Regions from separate parts of the Homo sapiens genome. Here region 2 is linked to region 1. The links are contacts of gene promoters, found by promoter capture Hi-C in blood cells and fetal thymus (Javierre and others, 2016). All regions are on one chromosome and are shown on one strand. The core of a region is centred on a gene start or on the middle of the fragment in contact, and the rest is flanking DNA. Distances in the headings are between cores, read along the strand shown. Region 1 holds the start of LCK (LCK proto-oncogene, Src family tyrosine kinase). Region 2 holds the start of KPNA6 (karyopherin subunit alpha 6).

What was found. Contacts are between HindIII fragments. The CHiCAGO score rates a contact against its expected background, and 5 or more counts as called.
Region 2: a contact is called between the fragment with the promoter of KPNA6 here and the fragment with the promoter of LCK in region 1, in 1 of 17 cell types (naive CD4 T cells). The highest score is 5.6, in naive CD4 T cells.

What each region holds. Positions count from the first base shown.
Region 1 is chr1:32,249,398-32,252,900 of GRCh38, forward strand. LCK (LCK proto-oncogene, Src family tyrosine kinase) reads left to right here and starts at 1,868. Exons shown (of 13, transcript NM_005356.5): 1 at 1,868-1,974. RefSeq lists enhancers at 471-680, 871-1,080, 1,131-1,220. The HindIII fragment of the contact is 1,623 bases long and covers 1,768-3,390 here.
Region 2 is chr1:32,106,517-32,110,019 of GRCh38, forward strand. It overlaps KPNA6 (karyopherin subunit alpha 6), which reads left to right and starts at 1,540. Exons shown (of 14, transcript NM_012316.5): 1 at 1,540-1,618. The coding sequence starts at 1,615. RefSeq lists enhancers at 1,234-1,752, 1,366-1,795, 1,753-2,270. The HindIII fragment of the contact is 1,772 bases long and covers 1,257-3,028 here.

The DNA.
Region 1 (3,503 bases), core at 618-3,117:
CCTCGCCTAGCTAATTTCCTTTCTTTTCTTTTCTTTTTTTTTTCTTTTTTTTGAGATGGAATTTCACTCTTTCGCCCAGGCTGGAGTAGTGGCGCGATCTTGGCTCACTGCAACCTCCACCTTCCGATTTCAAGCGATTCTCCTGCCTCAGCCTCCCGAGTAGCTGGGATTATAGGCACCCGCCACCATGCCCGGCTAATTTTTGTATTTTTAATAGAGACAGGGTTTCAGCATGTTGGCCAGGCTGGTCTCAAACTCCTGACCTCAAGTGATCCACCTGCCTGGGGTTTCCAAAGTGCTAGGATTACAGGCCTGAGCCACCGTTTATTTCTATTCGACCCTGAGGAGCTCCCTTAACCCCTGAGTCTGTTTCCTCACCTCCACAATGGAGATGCTGATTCTCACTCCACAGGCAGCAGATGTGCCTTACGGGAGATAGTGCACAGTGAGCGCTCAGTGAATATGAACTATTACTCACTCCCAGCGCGGCAGTCTTTCTACTCTGTGCTGAGACAGGGAGATGGACCGTGAAGTGTTCAGGCTTACATTGCAAGGGAGTCTGGGCCCTGCACCAGGCTTGGAGCTCCAACTCTAGGCTCTGTGTCACTGTGAAGGTTTTTCACTTTGTCTCTCTCAGCCTTTGTTTCTGTGTTACCCTCTTTGTCTGACTTTCCAACTCAGGCTTCCTCTTCCCCCCACCTATTTCCTGCCCCCACTTCTCTCTGCAGCTGAGGTGCACACAGCATCGCTTCCACCTCACAAGCCCCAACAATGCTCTGTGGGTTCCCCTCCCCCTACCAGCTCACTCAGGCAGTGACGCATGTGCACTTTCCTCCTGGTGGGGTCAAGGCCGAGTTCTTGGACCTGATGAGGCCACCTGGAGTTCCTCATATCACTGGTGACCTGGCCCTCAGCTAATGATGGGTGCCCCCTCAGCCTGGCCCCAGGGGAAATGGAAATTCTTTGCCTGCCTGCTGCTCGTGACAATCTTCTTGCCTCCTGCTTATAACAGAAAGTCCTGACAGTCTGTGGCCTGCACCTGGGGGCCTGAGCGGCCCTGTTTGCTCTGTCTTCCACCTGTTGCAGGAGATAGTGCCAAGCCCTCCACCTCTGCCAGGGGCTGTGGCCTTGCCTCTACCTGAATTCGAACTGTTGCCCTACTCTCCAACCATGATTAATGGGTGTTGTCCTGGCCTCTGACTACAGCAGGGGCCGTTACTATGCCCTCTTGAAGACATGAGGTTGTCCTGTCTGCCTCCTGAAACAGGCTGTTTTCCAGCATTCTGTCTGTAAGAGGGATGGTAGCCTGCCATTCACCTACCCTTGACTATAATAAAGCTACTGTTCCATGCCCTGAGATGACATGGGAATTGTTCTCTCGGCCTGACCTGACTGTAACATGCATGGTCTGCTCACCAGCTATTTAACAGGGATATTGTCCTCTCCTCTGACTCTGAACGATGCTACCTTTGCTGCCAGACAGAAACAAAAGGGTCTCTCAGCTGCAACGGTGGTGCTGAGGTGCTGTTTGCCTCTCACCATAAGCTGAGTGTGTGTCCGCTTGCCCCCTGCTCACTGGGCCCAAAGGCTGCCCTTGAATCTCTTGCCCAGATGCACCCTGGAGGGCAGAAGGGAGGGTCTATCAGACATCCTCCCCTCAACTTTAAACCTCCCAGTGTCACCCTGGGACAGTAGGGGAAGATGGACCTGGTCTGGAGATGTAGGGGACCCCCAGGGGCTGAGAGGCAGGGGTCTATGGTGGCAGGAAGCTTGGCGTGCTAGAGGGTTGTGGTTGGGCTGCTGGGGCCCGGTTGGCTGCGGAGCCCTCCGGAGGAGGCAGGAAGTCAGGGTGGGACGTGGGCGCGGGGAGACAGGTGGTGGCTACGACGGCGAAGGGAGCTGAGACTGTCCAGGCAGCCAGGTTAGGCCAGGAGGACCATGTGAATGGGGCCAGAGGGCTCCCGGGCTGGGCAGGTAAGGAGCGCTGGTATTGGGGGCGCAGGCGCCGGGGTGAGAGGCCTGATAGCAGACGGCTGCAGCTGTGCGGGCCCAGGCTCCCTAGGGATGCAGCAGCCCTTTGTGGCTGGGGAGAGAAGATCCTCGCTCAAGGTCAGGTGGGAGGCAGGCAGTGTAGCTGGGTCGCCTCTTTCCTGCGAAGCTGGTGTCGCTTGCCTCTGTCGTGCTGTCCACCAGTGGCCCCACCTGACTGGGAGCGTGTTTCCTGGACACCAGGCACATGGACAGTCAGGTGTTAAAAAGGCTTCCAGAAACCACCAAGCCCAGTCCCTCAGGCCATGAGGATGAGGCTCCTGAGGCCCAGAGAGAACAAGGCACTCACTGCCCACGGTTTCTCAGCAAGGCAGTGGCAGGGCTGAGAGTGATGGCTGAGGCTGTGGCCACCCCGCCTGGAGCAGGGTGATGGACAGGCTGGACTCAGAGGACCCAGGAATCCTTCTGGTTTCTGGGGCAGACCCCAGTGACAAGAATCTCCTGAGAAAGAGAGAGAGAGAGAGAGAGAGAGAGAGAGAGAGAGAGAGAGACAGAGATCACCCAAGGCATCCAGATGGACATGCGAGGAGTGATTTTAGCCTCAGCGATCGAGGGAAGAATCTCCTGATGGGCGTGAACTGATATGTGTGGGGGTGTCCATCATCTGGGATGGAGCTCCAGGGTGGATGGACATATCTGATCTGAGTATGGGAAGTTGGAAGTGAAAGAGAATGATGGGAGAAAGGAAGAGGAAGTACTATTTTTATCCCAGACAGGGGTGCAGTTGGTCCTGGGTGAGGAAGCGCTGAACTTCCATCTGGAAAGTCACCATTCCTGCCCCTGCCAAGCGTCACAGCAGGATGTCCTCCCCTCGCCCCTGGCTCCCTCCCGCTTCAGCCCTGCCTGTGTAGGGCCAGTTGGTTTTGCTGATTCCTGCTTCAAACCCCAGGGAGGTGGAGAGAGACTGGGGAGGCATAGTTGCTACCTGCTCACCTCCTCACTTTTTAACTCTGAGCCTTAATTTTTTTGGGAAGTCCTCACTCAGCCAGATTTCCAGGTTTCCCCTGCTTCGTTGGAGTTTTTCTTGACACACACTTTCCGCCTAGTCAGCTGGTCCCAGCCTTTCTCCTGTCTACAGCTCCAAGTCCTGTAGCCTCTTGTGGGGGCTAGGGAACATGGTGGCTCTCCTCGCACTTCAGGGAGGGTCATTCACCCTGGACAGGCATGAGCAGTTCCTTCCACCCAGCCCTATGCTGACAGACGAATCAGACAGGGTCCCTTGCTCTTGGGCCCCAGGAACAGAGGCTCTTCTCAAAGAGAGAAGGGCCAAGTGGACAAGGGCCAAGAACAGGCTGAGCATTGGTTCAGAGGAGGGGAGAAGGTGTCTCTTAAGATCTGGAAAGCTTCCTGCAAGAGTCAAGACAGTTCTGAGAAGGAGAAAGACCCATTTTCAAGAGTGCGTAGGACATGAAGCCAAGGTCACTATCCCTGGATTCTGTTCCTTGGGTACCACG
Region 2 (3,503 bases), core at 290-2,789, 140 kb before region 1:
GGGGGATCTTGCTATGTTGCCCAGGCTGGTCTCGAACTCTTGGGCTCAAGCAATCTGCCGCCTCAGCCTCCTAAAATGCTGGGATTACAGGAATGAGCCACCATGTCCAGCCCATTTCTTTCTCTCTCTCTCTCTCTCTTTTTTTTTTTTTTAGAGACAGGGTCTCACTCTATCACCCAACCTGGAGTATAGTGACACAGTCATGGCACTGCAGCCTTGACCTCCCGGACTCAAGTGATCCTCTCGCCTCAGCCGCCCAAGTACAAGTGCTCATTACCATGCCTGGCTAATTTTTTTCTTTTAATTTATTTTTTGTGGAGATGGGGTCTCACTGTGTTGCCCAGTCTGGTCTTGAGCTCCTGGCCTCAAGTGATTCTCTGGCCTCAGCTTCCCAAAGTGTTAGGATTATAGACAAGCGTGAACCACCACACCCAGCCCTATTTTTCTATTTCTCATCTCCCAATAAGATTGCAACCTCAACTAGGGCTACCTACGTAGGCCTAATCAGAAAACCTGAGTTTAGTCTTACTTCTTTGTTTCCTTCTCTCCATAGCCTCATTGAGCAAGGCACTTCCCCTCTCTAGATGATTCGTTGTTCATATTCAGCCCAAGGTCTATGATTGCTGTTTTTGTTTTTAGAGACGGAGTTTTGCTCTTGTCTCCCAGGCTGGAATGCAGTGGCACAATCTCGGCTCACTGCAACCTCTGCCTCCCGGGTTAAAGCAATTCTCCTGCCTCAGCCTCCCAAGTAGATTACAGGCATGCGCCACCACACCCAGCTAATTTTTGTATTTTTAGTAGAGACCATGGGCAGGCTGGTCTCGAACTCCTGATCTCAGGTGATCCGCCCGCCTCGGCCTACCCAAAGTGCTGGGATTACAGGCGTGAGCCACAGCGCCCAGCCGATTGGTTTCAACTATTAGAAGAAGGGATAAACTGGCCCGGAGCGGTGGCTCAAGCCTGTAATCCCAGCACTTTGGGGGCGGGCGGATCACCTGAGGTAAGGAGTTCAAGACCAGCCTAGCCAACATGGTTGAAACACCGTCTCTAGTAAAAATACAAAAATTAGCCAGGCGTGGTGGCAGGCGCCTGTAATCCCAGCTACTCGGGGGGCCGAGGCAGGAGAATCGCTTGAACTCGGGAGGCAGAGTGTGCAGTGAGCCGAGATCGCGCCATCGCACTCCAGCCTGGGGGGACAAGAGCGAGACTGCGTCTCAAAAAAAAAAAAAAAAAAAAAAAAAAAAAAAGGAGGGATAAGCTTCTGGGAGAAAAAGTTCCGGGTAAAGAAATCTCACTATAAAAAAGAAATAGTAGCAGAAACAGCTGGGAACTCCTAGACACACTTAACTTTCTTAGGTATCCCTTCCAGTCTCCTCCCAACCACTCCTTTCCTATTTCATTTCCACTCCCCACCTTTAGTAGCTGCGGTCTCTTTAAGTGCGCACTTTCGGTGTAATGATAGGCGATTGGGCCAATAAAGCGTTTCGTCCTGGAGTTAACTGGTTTGTCCCTTTCGGGCTGCCGTCCTACAGATCCGCCATATTGTCTACTGAAAGCTGCCGCTGAAGCTGCCGCCGTTGCCTCCGCCGCCAAGAGTGAGCGAGCGGACCCGCGATGGGTGAGTGAGGAAACCACGCAGTAGGGTTCTTGGGCTCAGGGAGTGTCGGGGCCTGGGATTTGGCGAGAGCCTGTCTCCGGTCTGCGGAAGATGTCTGCATCCCCTCTAGCTAGGTCTGAGGGGAAAAGTCAGGCCGGGAGTGCCCCTCTTGCCAGTTTTGGGCCGAGCTAGGGCCCGTGCTGGAAGCAGTCCTTTGGTGCTGGTTTCGGGGACACCTTGGCACGCCTGGAGCCCCCCACATGGTGGCCTCGGGCAGGAGCCCACGTGTTCCTGGGAGGTAGAAAGGGGCCTACTCTCTGTCCTGCGCCCAGACTGGGGCTGGGGGACGGGCTCCCGGCGGCAGGCCTGGGCGGCGCTAAGGTAGCTTTCTCCTGGGTTGTGTTTGGCCAACGCGTGTCTTGACTAGATTCAGTGGCTCCCCTGAACTCAGGGAAGTCCTACCTACGTAGCGAGGTGGAGTCCTCTAGTGAGGGGACGTCAGGCGAGCCAGCACTAGGCCGGTAAGCATGGGCAGCCAGGCCGAGGGCAGCTTGCGCCGCTGAAGGCCGGGAGAACGGAATCAAGGCGGAAATAGTGTGGTTCGGTTGGGCTCAGAGTGGCATCGCTTGTGATGGTAGAACACCAAAGGCCAAGTCCTCTTGGCCATCTTTAGGTTGAGGACTTTAGGTTTCTGGGCTGGCCCTGGTAAGGAGAAAAGGAGCGACCTGTTGATCTTTCTGAGGGGACTCCGGCTGGCAAGGCCTCTGTTCAGAGAGAATACCATGGCGAAGTCTTTGGATTTAGAGACAGAACCAACAGTGGTAATTCCTCTAAAGCAGTAAAAATTGTGAAATTTGCTAAGCTCTTTCTACGTACGGGCATTGTTCTGATTGCTTTACATGTCTTGTTTTACTTAATTTGTACAACCTAAGGAAATAGATGCTACCATTGCCATTTTACAGATGTGGAAGCTGAGCTTTAGAGAGGTAAAGTAACTTACCCAAGGTCATGCAGTGGCTAAGCCAGGGTGAACACTCCCAAGCCTAGTTTGTAACTGCTGTTTGTTGTTGTTGTTGATAGAGTCTTGCTCTGTCGCCCAGGCTGGAGTGCAGTGACGCGATCTCGGCTCACTGCAACCTCCTGCCTCCCGGGTTCAAGCGATTCTCCTGCCTCAGCCTCCCGAGTAGCTGGGATTACAGGCACCCACCACCACGCCCGGCTGATTTTTGTGTGTTTTTGGTAGAGACAGGGTTTCGTCATGTTGGCCAGGCTGGTCTCGAACCCCTGACCTCAAGTGATTCGCCTGCCTCGGCCTCCCAAAGTGCTGGGATTACAGGTGTGAGCCACTGCGTCCAGCCTGTTTTTTTGTTTTGTTTTTTTTTTTAAATGACCTGGCCCTCTAGTGGTTGGGCAGGGAGAAAAGGGGAAAAAAGCTTTTAACCCTAGGCAAAGTTGTAAATGTGTTTGGGTTTTCTGTTTGTTTATTTTGTTTTGTTTTGCTTTTTGTTTTTGCATGTGGGCCCATTATGAAATCTTTTTTTTTTTTTTGAGACGGAGTCTGGCTCTGTTGCCCAGGCTGGAGTGCATTGGCGCGATCTCGGCTCACTGCAACTACCACCTTCCCGGGTTCACGCCATTCTCCTGCCTCAGCCTCCCGAGTAGTTGGGACTACAGGTGCCCGCCACCACGCCTGGATAATTTTTTTTGTATTTTTTTGTATTTTTAGTGGAGACGGGGTTTCACCGTGTTAGCCAGGATGGTCTTGATCTCCTGACCTCGTGATCCTCCCGCCTCGCCTTCCAAAGTGCTGAGATTACAAGCGTGAGCCACCATGCCCGGCCACTTTGAAATCCTTTTTCTGAACGAAACTGAAGGAGTCCAGAGTGAATTGATAACTCTAATTATT